Linked DNA regions of Homo sapiens: all the other regions are linked to region 1. Evidence: promoter capture Hi-C in 16 types of primary human blood cells and fetal thymus (Javierre and others, 2016). All regions are on one chromosome and are shown on one strand. The core of a region is centred on a gene start or on the middle of the fragment in contact, and the rest is flanking DNA. Distances in the headings are between cores, read along the strand shown. Region 1 holds the start of KRT74 (keratin 74). Region 2 has its middle 4.0 kb from the start of KRT76. Region 3 has its middle 3.2 kb from the start of KRT3. Region 4 has its middle 5.2 kb from the start of KRT4.

Region 1 (3,600 bases), core at 773-3,272:
TTGCTACTACTGCCATAAGGAATACTTCCAGCCCCACTACCTCTGAGCCACTACTCTGAGCCAGCACCTGTAGTGGGCGTTGTTGGGAATATAAGCCTGGCTTCTGGAGATCCCCAAAAACCCTAATCAAGATGAGCCATTCCTCAGTGCACCTCTGATTCGTGGTTCATAATGCTTTTCTGTCATTCCAGAGCTTTGGCTCTACTTTAAGTTCTTTGTGTAGATTCCTCTCATTGGTCTGCAGGCTTCTTGGTGGCTGGGGCCCTAGGACAGTCACCCCCAGGTTAAGGAACTCACGCCATTTTTTGTCTTGCACACTCCAGCACAGGAGGGCGGCAAACCCAGCATCTGGCGGCACCCCTGCTGCTGCCCTTGCAACCTGACTTAGAAAACCACAAGCAACCCCTTCGATTACATGCTCCTGTGCTGTAGGGCTAGGCCCTGCCGGGAAAGCCCCCCGAGACAGGGTCCCTGGGGAAGGACCTTCCACCGTTACCTCAGGGGCTGAGAGGAAAACACCCTGTGAAGGGGAAATTCTTCCGGGGCAGCTTCCAGGCCTAAGCTCCACGCTCCCTGCCCAGGTCAGCTTCTCCTTTTCCCTCCCCAGCAGTGGGAGCAGTTGTCTTCTGCCCTCGGCTGGATCCAAACAAGCCAAGTGTTCTCAGTTTAGTTATAGGAAGTGGTCAGAGTCTTGCATGAGGGCAGCTGCCAGATACCTAGCTTTGAAATAATTTTTTTTGTTTTTTGGAGACAGAGTCTTGCTCTGTTGCCCAGGCTGGAGTGCAGTGGCACAATCTAGGCTCACTGCAACCTCTGCCTCCCAGGTTCAAGTGATTCTTCTACTTCAGTCTTTTGAGTAGCTGCGACTACAGGCATGCACCACTGCGCTCGGCTGATTTTTGTATTTTTAGTAGAGGCGGGGTTTCACCATGTTAGCCAGGCTGGACTCAAACTCCTGACCTCAGGCAATCTGCCCTCCTTGGCCTCCCAAAGTGCTGGGATTACAGGTGTGAGCCACCATGCCCAGCCCTGAAATAATTTTTTAACATTGCACTGTACCCACACTACCTGAGCTATAAAGCAGTGATACTTCCTGTTTGAAAATTGAGTGCTCCCTGAAGTTGCCAGGAAACTGGCAGAACAGCCCACCCTGAACCTGGGAGTGAAACTCAGGGGGTCCTGTTCCTTGGTGACTTCAGCCATAGGGTGTTTCCCCAGGGAGTGCAGGGGCTAATATCCCAGCTCCTGCCTGACTTCCTAGAGTAGGACAAATAATCTTATCCAGGAGAGAAAATCCAACTGGAGGAAATGCAGCTGACTGGAAAGGTTCTCATGGTTGTAAGGCAATGTCAAGGTCACCACCACCCAGGCCCTGCCCAACACAGAAGGCCCTAGACAATATCCCTGCTAGGGGGGCATGCAGATGCTGCAGAGTCATTCCTCTTCCTTCCTGGGGTCCACTTCACTGCTAGACAGCTGTGGTCCTTAGCATGGCCCAAGGACGGACCCTGGAGCTTCTTACCCAGATCCAGATCTTTGAGGACATCTTTCCAAGAAGAATCATCTTTCCATGTCTTCTTTTCCCTGAGGTAAAAATTCCAGCTTCCACACAAGACCCTATAATAGAGAGATGGTTTCTTTTGGGAAGAAACCTGGGGTTTTTCAGGTGAGTCTACTCTGGGGAAAGCCAGGCATTTCCCCTGCTCCTTGCTGATGGTTAAGCAAGAAGGAGGTAGCACTGGAAAAATAAAGCTAGGAGATCTCTTCAGGGGATAACTCTTCAGGTCCTTAATTAGGGAGCACAGATAAACTCCAAATTAGACCACTCCACTCTGCAAGGGCAGCATATTCCACTTGCTATCAGAAGAGCTTTGTTGCTGCAAAGGGCTTGGAGATCTCTGTTCTACAAATTGCCCATGGCCCCTGGCCCATCAGCAGGGGAAAGGAGATAGTGGAGAGACGCCCTTTTCCGGTGTCCTGGGCTCAACAGGGATAAAAGGAGGCAGCACTCTGGGTGCCCCATCAGTGTGTTCTCTACCCCTTGGAGACTGCTTTTCTCCAGCTCTGTCAACTCAACCTTTCCCACCATGAGTCGGCAACTGAACATCAAGTCCAGTGGTGACAAGGGCAACTTCAGTGTGCATTCGGCAGTGGTGCCAAGGAAGGCTGTGGGTAGCCTGGCTTCTTACTGTGCAGCTGGCAGAGGGGCTGGCGCTGGCTTTGGCAGTCGGAGCCTCTATAGCCTTGGAGGGAATCGGCGTATTTCTTTCAATGTGGCTGGTGGCGGCGTTCGGGCTGGAGGTTACGGCTTCAGGCCTGGCTCTGGGTATGGAGGGGGCCGGGCCAGTGGCTTTGCTGGCAGTATGTTTGGCAGTGTGGCCCTGGGGCCTGCATGTTTGTCTGTGTGCCCACCTGGGGGCATCCACCAGGTCACTGTCAACAAGAGCCTCTTGGCCCCCCTCAACGTGGAGCTGGACCCTGAGATCCAGAAGGTGCGCGCCCAGGAGCGGGAACAGATCAAGGTGCTGAACGACAAGTTCGCCTCCTTCATTGACAAGGTGGGTCTCATAGGAGGAGGATGAGGCCGCACCCTGAGGCCTGAGCAGTTTTCCTGCTGCCTGGGAATGGACTGCACACTGTGGCTGGAAAGGTGCAGCTGGGCCTCAGGAAGGGCTTCCTCACCATTAGGGAAGGAGAGTAGGTCTGTGAGCCACGGAGGACAAAGGAATACATGAATATATCGGCTTCTTTGGCGATTTTGCAGGGAAGGATGGGAAGCTGGGTAAAGAGCAGCCCTTCCTTGACAAAAAAGTGATGAGTTTCTTGAGGACAGCTGGATCTTCCAAGAACATGAAAGGCTAATAGAATCCAGCAGTGTTCAGAGGGAAGGGCTCATGGTACAGGAAGAGACACTTAGTTGAGACATAAGGAAGGACATCTCCTGGGACCAGGGCCGAGCAATAGAAGAAAGCTGTGGAAACTCCTTGAGTGAGTTCTCAGTGATGCCTTGTCCAGAAGGCTAGGAAATGAGCACTTGTAAAGGATCTAGTTTGTGTGGAATGGCAAGGGTGGAGAGTCAAGACATGAGCAAAAATGACTACAACAATCTATGGCAAACCTGGGGAGTCAATGGTGTGTGTCCAGGGGGCATGACTGCACCCATTGTGGTTCCAGGTGTCTGTTGATTTGGGTTCCAGGTACGCTTCCTAGAGCAGCAGAACCAGGTTCTAGAAACCAAGTGGGAGCTGCTGCAGCAGCTGGACCTGAACAACTGCAAGAAGAACCTGGAGCCCATCCTTGAGGGCTACATCAGCAACCTGCGGAAGCAGCTGGAGACACTGTCTGGGGACAGGGTGAGGCTGGACTCGGAGCTGAGAAGCATGAGGGATCTGGTGGAGGACTATAAGAAGAGGTGAGCAGGCTCCACCCGAGGGTCACAGACCATGTTTCCCGTGCCTCTGGGCTCACCTGATCTCTGTGCCATTATTTTTTAGGAGATGGGGGAGTATGCACCAGGGTCAGGAGCTCACATCCCTTTCTCTGGCTAGGGGGAAGGGCCTATCCTCTTTGATGATAACTTCCTGCCTAGTTGATAGGAAG
Region 2 (3,454 bases), core at 135-2,634, 210 kb before region 1:
CGCCTGTAATCCCAGCTACTCGGGAGGCTGAGGCAGGAGAATCTCCTGAACCTGGGAGGCAGAGGTTGCAGTGAGCCTTGATTGTGCCACTGCACTCCAGCCTGAGCAACAGAGTGAGACTCCGTCTCAAAAAAAAAAAAAAAAAAAAAAAGTGAAAGAGAAGATTGTGGCTAATCATTCCTGTGGGCCAAGTGGTCAACTCCAACATCTAAGACCCAGCAAGCAGCTAAGCTCAGCGCAAACTCCTGGCCTCTTGCTCTTTCTCCAACAGGGTGAAGACCTTTTACATTGCAGATGATGGAGCGGCTCTTGTCATCTATAAATTCCATGCACACCCATGTGTTCTGTCCCTGAGAGACTGTCCTGACCAGTGCCTTGGTGGCCCTGGCTAGCATGGTAGGTTGCACATGGCTGGTGTCCAACCTATCATGTGGTGGTCAGGTGGAGAGAATATTGGTGGGTTCTTTACATGTCAAAGTGGACTTTTCACTTTGGGATGGTGTAATTTGACTTGCTGAAAGTCTATGCAGAAGAAAAGCATTCACGAATTTACGACAGGCTTTGGGATTGGACAGTCTGATTAAAATCCAAGCTTGCAAGTGAATTGACTTGAGGCAAGTTAATTAACCTCATGCCCTTATCTGTAAAATGTGAATGAAAATTCCTACCTTACAAAGTTTTTGTGACAATTAGAAATGACACATGTAAACAACCTGTCAGTGACTTGTATATGTTAGGCAGTCAATGTTAGCTGTTTTAAAATTCTATTCACAGATGGGCAATAGGAGTTAAGATTTGAAAGAGGAAATTGTTTTCACTGAAACATAGTCCCCACACCTCTAAAAAGTATGTAGTAGATCAATAAGTATTTGCTGATTGATAGATTGCATTACTGACGAGGCCCTGTAGTGGGAAAATGGCTTGGCCAGACATGGGAAAATGGCTTTTATGTAATTCTCAATACAGACAGTATGATTCTTTGCAACTTGTTGCAAAATAATCAAAGACTTCACTGTTGCCTTGACCCTAAACTGGGCTACCCCTTAGAACTCCTCCTTCCTCTTCAGCTTCCAAACTGACACCTTCTAGGAGGGCTTCCTACATTGACATCATCATCACAAGGGCTGCCAAGTGTTGAGCACCTGCTTTGTGTAAGGGTTTTCCAACTTTACCTCCTACAGTCCCCACTGCAACTCTATGAGGAGGCTGTGCTAACTCCCATTTGCTGAATGGGAAACTGAGGTCCAGAGGGTAAAATGTCTTGCCTGATGCCATGCAACTGGAAAGTGGCAAGGCTGGGATCTGAACACAGGCTCGTCTAATTCCAAGGCTTCCATATTTTCCACTCTTTCAAGCTGCAAGGGAAGAGAGGAGGAGATGAAGTTATTTGAGTTCCAGAAAATCCAGCATGCCCATGAAATATCCACGGTTTTTGGAAATATTCAGCCAAATCCATTTATTGGTGAGAAATATTCATTGACAGGAGAGCTTGTCTTTAGAGAACCTGTTCAGTTTTCGGCGTCCCAGTGCCCTTCTTGCTGCATCTTCAACCCCAGGCCTTAGTCTGCTCTCAGTTTCCTGCTATCTCACTTGGAGCAAGTGCTTTCTCTCCAGGGATGAGGAGCTCACTTGGAGCAAGTGCTCTTTCTCCAGGAATGAGGATGTCTCCTTATGCCCTAATCCTCTGATTGGTCTATCTGCACTGGTCTATCTGCACATTCTCATCCATCCTGGATGGCTAGTTGGACTAGCGTTTCCCGAGTATACTTGACAGCATGTTAGTAGATGTTAAGATAGAAAGATTTTGTTGTTAAATTTGGGAAGCTGTGATTAAATTAAGGCAAAGACATTATTTTCTATAGGACTTCTTTGGGCTTTTAATATACTAAACAACTTTACTAAAATCCCAGGAAAGAGCTATAGATTTTTCATTTCCCAAATTTATGTAATCACAGAACCTTTTAATCAGGGCCATCTTGGGAGATAGAATTCTGCCCTGCATAAGCCCTGGGAGAGATCCAAGTACCAGATAAAGAATGAGGGGTGAGCTGGTGTGTATTTTAATCAAGTGTAGAGATAAGACCAGAATCAGAACAAATTGTGGTTGCTAACAGCTAAGACCTTAGTAACATAAGGACTTAGTTGTACTTAGATGTTTGCTTCTTTATCAAGCTTTCACTATAAATCTTGCTCTATATGGTAATTATTTTTACTGTTCATTGGTTAAAATTGCTTCACTAGTGACAAGCTTTTATTTCAACAAGAAAAGAATGCTAATTCCTAGTCCAGGGGCAGCATACCCAGAACGTTAATTATTCTTTTTTTATTTTTGAGAACAAATTGGTGATTATCTTGAAAATGGGATCTGCGAACCTCCATGGAGAAAGAGGCAGCAGCCATGGCTCCCTCATCCTCAGCAGATGGTGGTGGAGAGGGATGACTGCTCACTTTGGCCAAGGATAATGACTACTGTCTCATGATGCATTCCTCCACTCATAATTATGTTACAGGCAATCTGAAGTCTTCTCACTGCAGTTGACTACCAGAGAGCAATTTGGTTAGAGGGAATAACTCCTTGGTTTTAGTGCCCCCAATTTTATAGGTGGGGAAATAAAAATCCAGGGTGCTCAGCCATCTGGCAAGCTTTACACAGAATGTTCTGGCAGTGAGGGATTGGAACTCAGATTGCTGGCAGTAGGCAGACCCTTTAGATACTGTTCTGAAAGATCCTACAGTGAATGAGGGCAATGTTGGTGAGGATAGCAACTCTGGGTATTTCCAGCAGCTCCATTCAACTGCTGAGAAGACAATCCCCATCTGCTAAATAAGGTGATGCTTTGGCAGGCTCATGCGACATGGATTAGGCGACCCAGCCCAAACCCGCGCTTTTGTGATCTGTGCATCACCTTTCTCCACCACGCTTCTCCAGCCTAGGCCAGGGTGGCAGAGGTGAGCCACACATCAGAGGCTGCCACCCACCACCTCAGTACTGCAGCCAAGGGAGGGAAGGGAATCAGAGACATTTATGTCTGTTCTTGTTTGCTTCGGACTCTCACCTGGAGCTTCAGCTGAGCCTGGCTCAGCTTTCTTTCCAGGAAGAGCATGTGATCTTCTGCTTTTAAAGGATCCAGAGGATATGAGGAAAGACCTTACCAGGAGGGGCTGTCATTCAATTGATGGGTGGAGTATAAATGTCTCATGGAAGAACTCAACATGAAATCCTCTTCCTGGATTATCTGTGGATGAATGATGTTAATTTAAAAATCCAAACATATATTGCTGAATACTATGTATTTAAATTTCAAAACAATCCTGCAAGTAGGATCAATGCCACCTTTTAAAAATAAGGAGAGAGAGAAGTCAAGTACCTTGTCCAAGGTCACCACATAGTGAGAGGTAGACATAGGATTTGAACCCAGGTCTTTGGAATTCCATGATGATGACAGGTTTTCTG
Region 3 (3,612 bases), core at 275-2,774, 230 kb before region 1:
TTGAAGACAACTGTTTAATAACTTCCTAAGATCTCTTGGGAATTCTCCAGCGAGGACAAGGTTGTGATTTCTGCTGTGTACAAGCCTCTGGTTTGAGCAGGCATGCCAGCCAGACATGATTCAGCACAAATATAAATGGACAGCTCTTATCCATGCAGAGGAATCTTATGTAAATAGAGGCTTATTCAGGGCAAACCTTTTTTTTTTTTCATTTTTACTGTTATGTTTATTTTCTCTGTAAGTGCTTTGTGAATGCTGTCCCTTCAGTTTATTCTTACAGCAGGACAAGGAAGTGAGTTATTTAAAACTAGGAAGCTGGCTGGCATGGTGGCCCATGTTTATAATCCCAGCACTTTGGGAGGCTGAAGTGGGCGGATTGCTTGAGCCTAGGAGTTCAAGACCAACCTGGGTTACATAGAGAGACTCTGTCTCTACAAAAAAAATAAAAAAAGTGTTAGCTGGGCATGGTGGTGCATGCCAGTGTCCCAGCTACTTGGGAGGCTGAGGTGGGAGGATGGCTTGAGCCTGGGAGGTTGAGGTTGCAGTGAGCTGAGATTGCACCACTGCACTCCAGCCTCAGCAACAGAGTGAGGGGCTCTCTCTCTCTCTCTCAAAACAAAAACAAAAAAACAAAAACAACCCCCTGCCCCCACCACCAACAAACCCATGCCTTACCATTCCTCCTCCCCAGGCAGGATTGATGGAAGTCAAGAGCTAAAGAAGGGAACAGAATCTTAGCTTGCATTGAAAGAAGCACAGTGCCCCCATCACAGACAGGAAGGGGCTTCTTATTAGTTCTGGTGCACATGAAGCCACCTTAAGTATCCTATCTTAGCAAGGCACTGTAGTTTTAAGAGGTCCATTAACATATTAAAGTGGGTGCAGAGAAGATTCCCGGAAACCATCTGTACTGAGGACTGGGAGAAACAACTGGGTCTATCTAACTGGGAGGTTGGTGTCTGTGAATTCCACAGTATTTTCTAATATTGGAAGGGTTGTGATACAGAAACCAGGGGAGTGTGTGTGTTTTACTATGGAAGGCCAGGCAAGAGCAAATTCATCGCAACTCAGTTCCCATCTGCTGAAGGCCTGCCAGGGCCACAGGCTGATGGACACAAAGGCAGGGAAGACAGGTGGTAACAGTGCTCAGTGGGGAATCTCAGCTGGGGGCAGGTGTCCAGCCGTGGAAGGGGCAGGACCTTGAGACCTGAGGCTGAGAGGCCCCAGTTAGGGTTGCTGTTGTGTCAGGACTGCAAGGATTCTGAGAATGCACATGGATGCAAGTGTCTCTCGACTGAGTGAATAATGTGTCTTTTTATGTATATGTATTACCACTTTCAAATGTATATGACTATGAACTGCACTTTTATTTAAAAGTGTTGCTAAATTCATAGTAAAAAATGTATATTCTCAAAGGATACTGGAAGTATGAGTTCTGACATGTGTGAAGGTCAATGTAATTTTTTGTGTGTTAAAAGGGGCCTTCACAAGCAGAGAGGTATGGGTGCCATGCCATGACGGACAGGTGACTGGGCCTCCTGCTGCTGACCACAACTTCACTGATCCTTTAAGAGGAGTTAGGCTCCCATGAAATGGAGTGGAAGGCACGAAAGCTAGATCCTTGAAGACCTTCCTTGGGTCAGGGTGGGGTCTTGCTGGCCTGGGCAAGTTAGGAGATTTGATGAATCGCCTTCCATGGGGATCCTGAAGAGTAGGAGTGGCCAGGTGAATTCTGCCTCGAGGTAGAGGAGTGGACTGGAGAGCCTCCTGGCCGTAGCACCCTATGAGTCTCGATTTTACACATTGCAATCCAGTGACTCACTCTTTTCTCCAGGGAGTAAACACTTAGGGCGCTTAGTTAATAAACTTCAGATAATTCAAGTGTTGGGGATGACTGTAAACCAACTCTGTTTTCTCAAAGTGTTTATTAGGCCCTACAAGTTTAGAGGGATGGGCCCAACCAATAAGAATTTCAACTCACTGATTATCTCCTCCCCTTCCACCACTTCCTTCACTCACAGCTCTGATCAGAATTGACAATCTAGTCCCACGAATGTATTCCCCAATCTTTGTTTTGCTCCCTGTCCTCTCAAAGGTCAAGCCATGTCTTCTCTGCTATCCCAACCCCAAGAGTAAGTATAGATTATGCCCTTCTTCCTTTTTCTTCCACCATCTGCTGGGGAGGTCCCCGACCCAGGACTAGCTGATGACAGCAGTGGTTGTGATGTTGCTTCTCAAAGATTCTTCTCCAAGATAATTCCCTCTAAAGGAATGACAAGCATGGCTCAGAATCAGTGGGCTCTGGCAATGACTAAGATCTCCCCCCATTGGGGCACTAAGTACCCTGAATCACTATGGGTTTAGGAATTCCTAGAGACTCATTGCCCTGGACTCTAGACCCCACACCAGACCAAGCAGCAGCCTCATTTCTGTCTGGCATAAAGGCAGGTCCTCCATCCTGCTCTCTTAGATATTATAAGGAAAAATATGGTCTAATTTTTGTGATATGTTTCCTTTTTTCTTTTTCTTTTGTTGAGAAGGGTCTTGTTCTGTTGTCCAGGCTGGAGTGCCATGGTGCAATCATAGCTCAGTGCAGCCTTGACCTCCCAGGATCAAGTGATCCTCCGACCTTAGCCTCCCAAGCACCTGGGTCTACAGGCACATGACACCACACCCGGCTAATCTTTGTATTTTTTTCATAGAGATGGTGTTTTGCCATGTTTCCAAGGCTGGTCTGAAACTCCTGGGCTCAAGCAATCTGCCCACCTCAGCCTTGCAAAGTATTGGGGTTACAGGCGTGAGCCACCACATTTGGCCTTGTGATATGTTTCTTAAAACACTGGCAGATATTTCATTCATCTAGCTATGTTCCTGTGAGATCTAGAGGGTCAGAGATGATTGATCATCTTTTATGGTTAATGATGCTGAAATGCAGAGAATTTAAATAGCTTTGGTCATGCTTAGTCATGGGGAGGATCTGGTCTAGCCCTGGGTTTGGTTCATTGCCTTTGAGGGAGCAAAGAGGAGAGGAGCCTGTGTGGCCACACTCTAGGCCTGGGCTAACTTCACAGTCCATGGGCAGAACTTGCAGAAAATTAGGGATATAAGTCAGAGATGCTGGAGAGGGGATCCCAGCAATGAACGGGGCAGATTGTGTGACCTCAAATGTCCAGTCAACTTCAACTTGATTCTGTAATTGATTGATTCTTGATTGATTAGTTCTTGATTCTGTGATTCTACATTTTTTTCCCCTGAGGAGGTGACACTCATTTTGCATGTAAATTTTTCTAAATCTGAACACCAAATTTGAGAAGTCTGGATTCCTCACATTGAAATAATCTCAATTAGCTTGTGCTACCTCATGCAATGGGAGTTGAACTAGCTTTCAACCAGTTTTATCTGGTTGTAATCCAGTATAAGGGCTTAACCATTAGTCATTAATAATTAATTGATGGACTAATTCATTTTTTCAACAAACCAAACTTTATGGCACTTACTATTGGCAAAGCACTGTGCTTTGGTTCAAGGCACCCAGTATATTAACAAGACTGGAAACTCCTGGAGAGCTTATGGTTTTATCCTGGGGAGGAGCTAGGATGTTGCACAGCCTGG
Region 4 (3,593 bases), core at 479-2,978, 250 kb before region 1:
TAGGCAACTTGGGTTTAAATCCAAGTTCTGCCACTTACTAGCTGTATGACCTCGGTCAAGTTACCTAACCTCTCTGAGCCTTAGTTTCCTCCTTTGTAAAAGTGGGTTGTGATAAGAACATGTGTAAAGCATCTGGCTTATAGAGGCCCTTTCAGGAATCAGGTTTCTTTGCTTTCCCACTCCCTGACTTCTGGATTCCCAGCTTATCCTCTTGGCCTCAGTGATGTCTCTCTCAGCCCCCACATCCAGTCGGCAAGAAAAATCCACACTTAATTGGGTTTTGTGGTTTACACATACATTACTTTGCCTGTGACCATCACCACAGCCCTAGGTTCAGTAGTGGGCATGTGGTGTTCCAGTTTACAGGTGAGGCGATTCACGCTCACAGAAGTGACCTCTCATGCTGTAGTCATCCAGCTGGCTGGAGGTGGGTCAGTAGTGTCCAGGGCTGCAATTTCAAGCCCTCTGTCCTGTCACCCCAGAAGCTACCTCCGTCCTACTCCTGCCTCCATCACTCGCCAAATCTTACTGCTCCTCCCTCCATGCGTCTCTTGGTATCACCTTCTTTCCTCTTCATCTCCACAGTTCTCTACTTTGAGTCTGGACCCCACTCCTCAAGCTGTACCCAAGTGATTCCCCAATTGGCTGGCCTCTCAACCCTGCACCTCTCAGGCCCTCCCCACCCTGCTACCAAACCAGTTGGCCCGACCCGAGGCTGTCACCACTCCGCTCCCTTCCTTGGCAACCTTAGGGCTCCTGGCAGTTGCTGGGATGCATCCCACACTCTTCCGGCCTGATCACTCTGTCCTCCTCAGAGGAGCCCCGAAGAGCCCTGAGAAAGCTTCCTCCAGGGCTGTGGAAGGCCAGCAGAGGGATTTTCAGCCAAACCCTAACCTCCAGCTTAGGAACACAAAGGCCTAGCGGTTTAGGGTCAGCTCTGCCTCACCAGCTTGGGTGGTCTCTAGCTTCCCTTCTCAGACAGATGGAGTATAGTCCACCCCATGTACAACACTTTGAGGAATACTTGCTAATGCTCACTGAGTGCCAACTGTGTGCCAGAACTGCTGTCAAGCCTTTAACTGATTCTCTTCACAACAGCCTATAATATAAATACTATTATCATTCTAATTTTGCCTATAAGGAAAATAAGGCACAGAGTGGTTAAGTAACTTGCCTAAGGTCACACAGCTAGGAAGTAGCAGAGCTAGGTGTGGAATCCAAGCAATCTGGTTCCATAGCCCAAGCTCTTAAGCACCAGGTTATTTTGCTTATATAGAAAAAGGAATGGAGACCTGGGGATGCTGGAGCTAGAAGGGGCATTGGATGTAATCGACTCCAAACTTTTTATTTCATAGATAAGAAAACAGGTTGAGGAAGGGGAAGAATGTATCCAAAGCCACGGTAACTTAGTGGCAGTGTTAAAAAAAAAATCAGTTTTAGTGAGATCATAGGCCAGGTGTTGTGGCTCCTGCCTGTAATTCCAGCACTTTGGGAGGCTGAGGCAGGTGGATCACTTGAGCCCAGGAGTTCAAGACAAGCCTGGCAACATGGTGAGACTCTGCCTCTACAAAAAAATACAAAAATTAGCTGGGTTTGATAATGCATACCTGTAGTCCCAGCTACTTGGGAGGCTGAGGTGGGAGGATCACTTGAGGCTGTTGAGGCTGCGGTGAGCTGTGATTGCACCATTGCACTCCAGCCTGGGTGACAGAGGGAGACCCTGTCTCAAAAAAATTATATTTAGGGCTCAAAAACTGAACAATAGAAACTTTTGATTGTCATGGAAAAAAGCCTCAGAGATTATACTGCAGCCCAGGGGGGCCCACCAACAATAATGCGCTGCTTAGACATACTTGTCGAAGGAGGGGAATGGCCCAGACCCAGGGGTTTCCAAACTGAGGACCCTAAGGGCTGCTTTCAGGGGTGCAGGGGGAGGTCAGCAGGTGAGAAGGATCATGGTCCCTCCTCTGCACCAACTGGATCATCTCTCCTTATCTGTTTTACTCATGAGGCTGTGCACGTGATTTTGTTTATGAGGGTGCTTTTGCTGCCAGAACATGCTGGGAAGCCCCTGCCTGTATATGCCTGGGGTAGGAGGCCAGCAGGGGCAGCTCTCCGGCCCGGGGAAAGAGGAGCCCCTGGGTACAGACCCCCATACCTGGCTCTCAGGAGTGCCCGTCCTCTCATTGCCCTCACTGGCCTCTCCCTAAAACGCTGATGGCCCTTTTCTGCAGAATCTCTGATCCCCGTGTTGTCTCTGGTTCCCCAAGAATGACTCAGGCCCGGTGGGGCAGTTGAGGTTGGGTGACCGAATGGAGTGAGGGTGCCCGCCTGGCCAGGGAGGGCAGGAGCACTTTCCCACACCACACAGTGGGTTTGGAGATGAGAGTGACAGAAGCCCTCAGGATCCCTTAATCCCAGGGCTGAATGTAAGGGCTTGCCTCCCTTACCCAGAAAGCCCTGAGCAAACACTCCCTCCGCCTGGCTCCACACCCCTGTCGGCTGCTCATCCCTCTGTGAAAAGATTGGGAACAGCTGCCAAACAAGGAAGGGTCACCGAGGGCAGTAGCAGAATCTGCGTGTGGAGGTCTGGGGAGGGGCAGGGGACAAGCTTCCAGCTGTGGCTGCTGGGTAGTGGCGCCTTGTTCAGCCACCTGCCTCTGGCCCACATATGAAGGCAATGTCTTTCCCCGTTTTCAGGGAAAGAAACTCATCTCTCTTTCTCTCTCACTCTAGGGTGTAAAGGCGCTCTTGCATAGGAAGTTCTTCCTTAGGTCTACCTTCGGTTTCTCAGGCTCAGTTTGAAGATTTTGTGAGCTTCTTGCAATTCTGATTTAATAATAAGGACACAGAATGTGGCTCTAGACTAGAACTTTCTTCTTGTTTGGATTGGGTTTATGGTAGGGTTTGTCATGAAATTAATTTGGATTTAGTTAATTGGAGGATACAAAACTGGCCCCTCAGGACAGTGTCATACCTTATTGGGTACTTGTAAGGACAGGGCCACATCAACCAAGCAACTGACCATGTGCTGAGGGTAAGGACAAAAAGGAGCGGAGCTGCATCTGCAGAGCTTGCAGCCTGCTGGCCAGACCCCATGGCTGTCTTGGTGGACCATGAGGTACAGGGCTGTATAAGTTGCTGTGTATTTTTTTCCCTGCATATTCTGTGTGGGCCAGTCACTCATATAAAACATTATACCTACCGTTTTATACATTGTAAGGTCACAAGCTTTGAAGTCAGACAGATAGTACTGACTTCCTATCTCTACCACTTCCTGGCTGTGTGATCTCAGGCAAGTTACATACCCCTCTGAGCCTCAATATCTGCAGCTCCAAACTGGACATAGCAAAGCACCTCTTTGACTGGGTTGTTGGAAGAAGCACCTAGTGTTCAGCATATAACAGTAGTTCCAAGAGAGAATCCCTTCTACCCAAGAGGCACCGCTGCCTTTCCTTCATCTTCCTTCTTGTATCAGCGATGGCACACCTCAAGTCACCTTCATGAGAAGTACCTCAATCGTAGCTCCATGGTTTGGGTGCCCCACAGGCACAAAATAAGACTGATTACATATTCTATATTGTTTCCCTGAA

What was found. Contacts are between HindIII fragments. The CHiCAGO score rates a contact against its expected background, and 5 or more counts as called.
Region 2: a fragment that was not itself captured here is called in contact with the fragment with the promoter of KRT74 in region 1 in 1 of 17 cell types (non-activated CD4 T cells); the score reaches 5.0 in non-activated CD4 T cells.
Region 3: a fragment that was not itself captured here is called in contact with the fragment with the promoter of KRT74 in region 1 in 3 of 17 cell types (naive CD4 T cells, naive CD8 T cells and total CD8 T cells); the score reaches 6.7 in naive CD4 T cells.
Region 4: a contact is called between a fragment that was not itself captured here and the fragment with the promoter of KRT74 in region 1, in 2 of 17 cell types (erythroblasts and activated CD4 T cells). The highest score is 7.2, in erythroblasts.

Annotation. Positions count from the first base shown.
Region 1 is chr12:52,572,265-52,575,864 of GRCh38, reverse strand. It overlaps KRT74 (keratin 74), which reads left to right and starts at 2,022. Exons shown (of 9, transcript NM_175053.4): 1 at 2,022-2,558; 2 at 3,198-3,412. The coding sequence starts at 2,088. RefSeq lists an enhancer at 3,428-3,597. The HindIII fragment of the contact is 6,698 bases long and covers 1-3,600 here.
Region 2 is chr12:52,779,618-52,783,071 of GRCh38, reverse strand. No RefSeq gene overlaps it. Among named protein-coding and RNA genes, the nearest start is that of KRT76, 4.0 kb to the right of the region's middle. The HindIII fragment of the contact is 1,580 bases long and covers 595-2,174 here.
Region 3 is chr12:52,797,538-52,801,149 of GRCh38, reverse strand. No RefSeq gene overlaps it. Among named protein-coding and RNA genes, the nearest start is that of KRT3, 3.2 kb to the right of the region's middle. The HindIII fragment of the contact is 5,805 bases long and covers 1-3,612 here.
Region 4 is chr12:52,817,514-52,821,106 of GRCh38, reverse strand. No RefSeq gene overlaps it. Among named protein-coding and RNA genes, the nearest start is that of KRT4, 5.2 kb to the right of the region's middle. RefSeq lists an enhancer at 2,387-2,888. The HindIII fragment of the contact is 1,770 bases long and covers 844-2,613 here.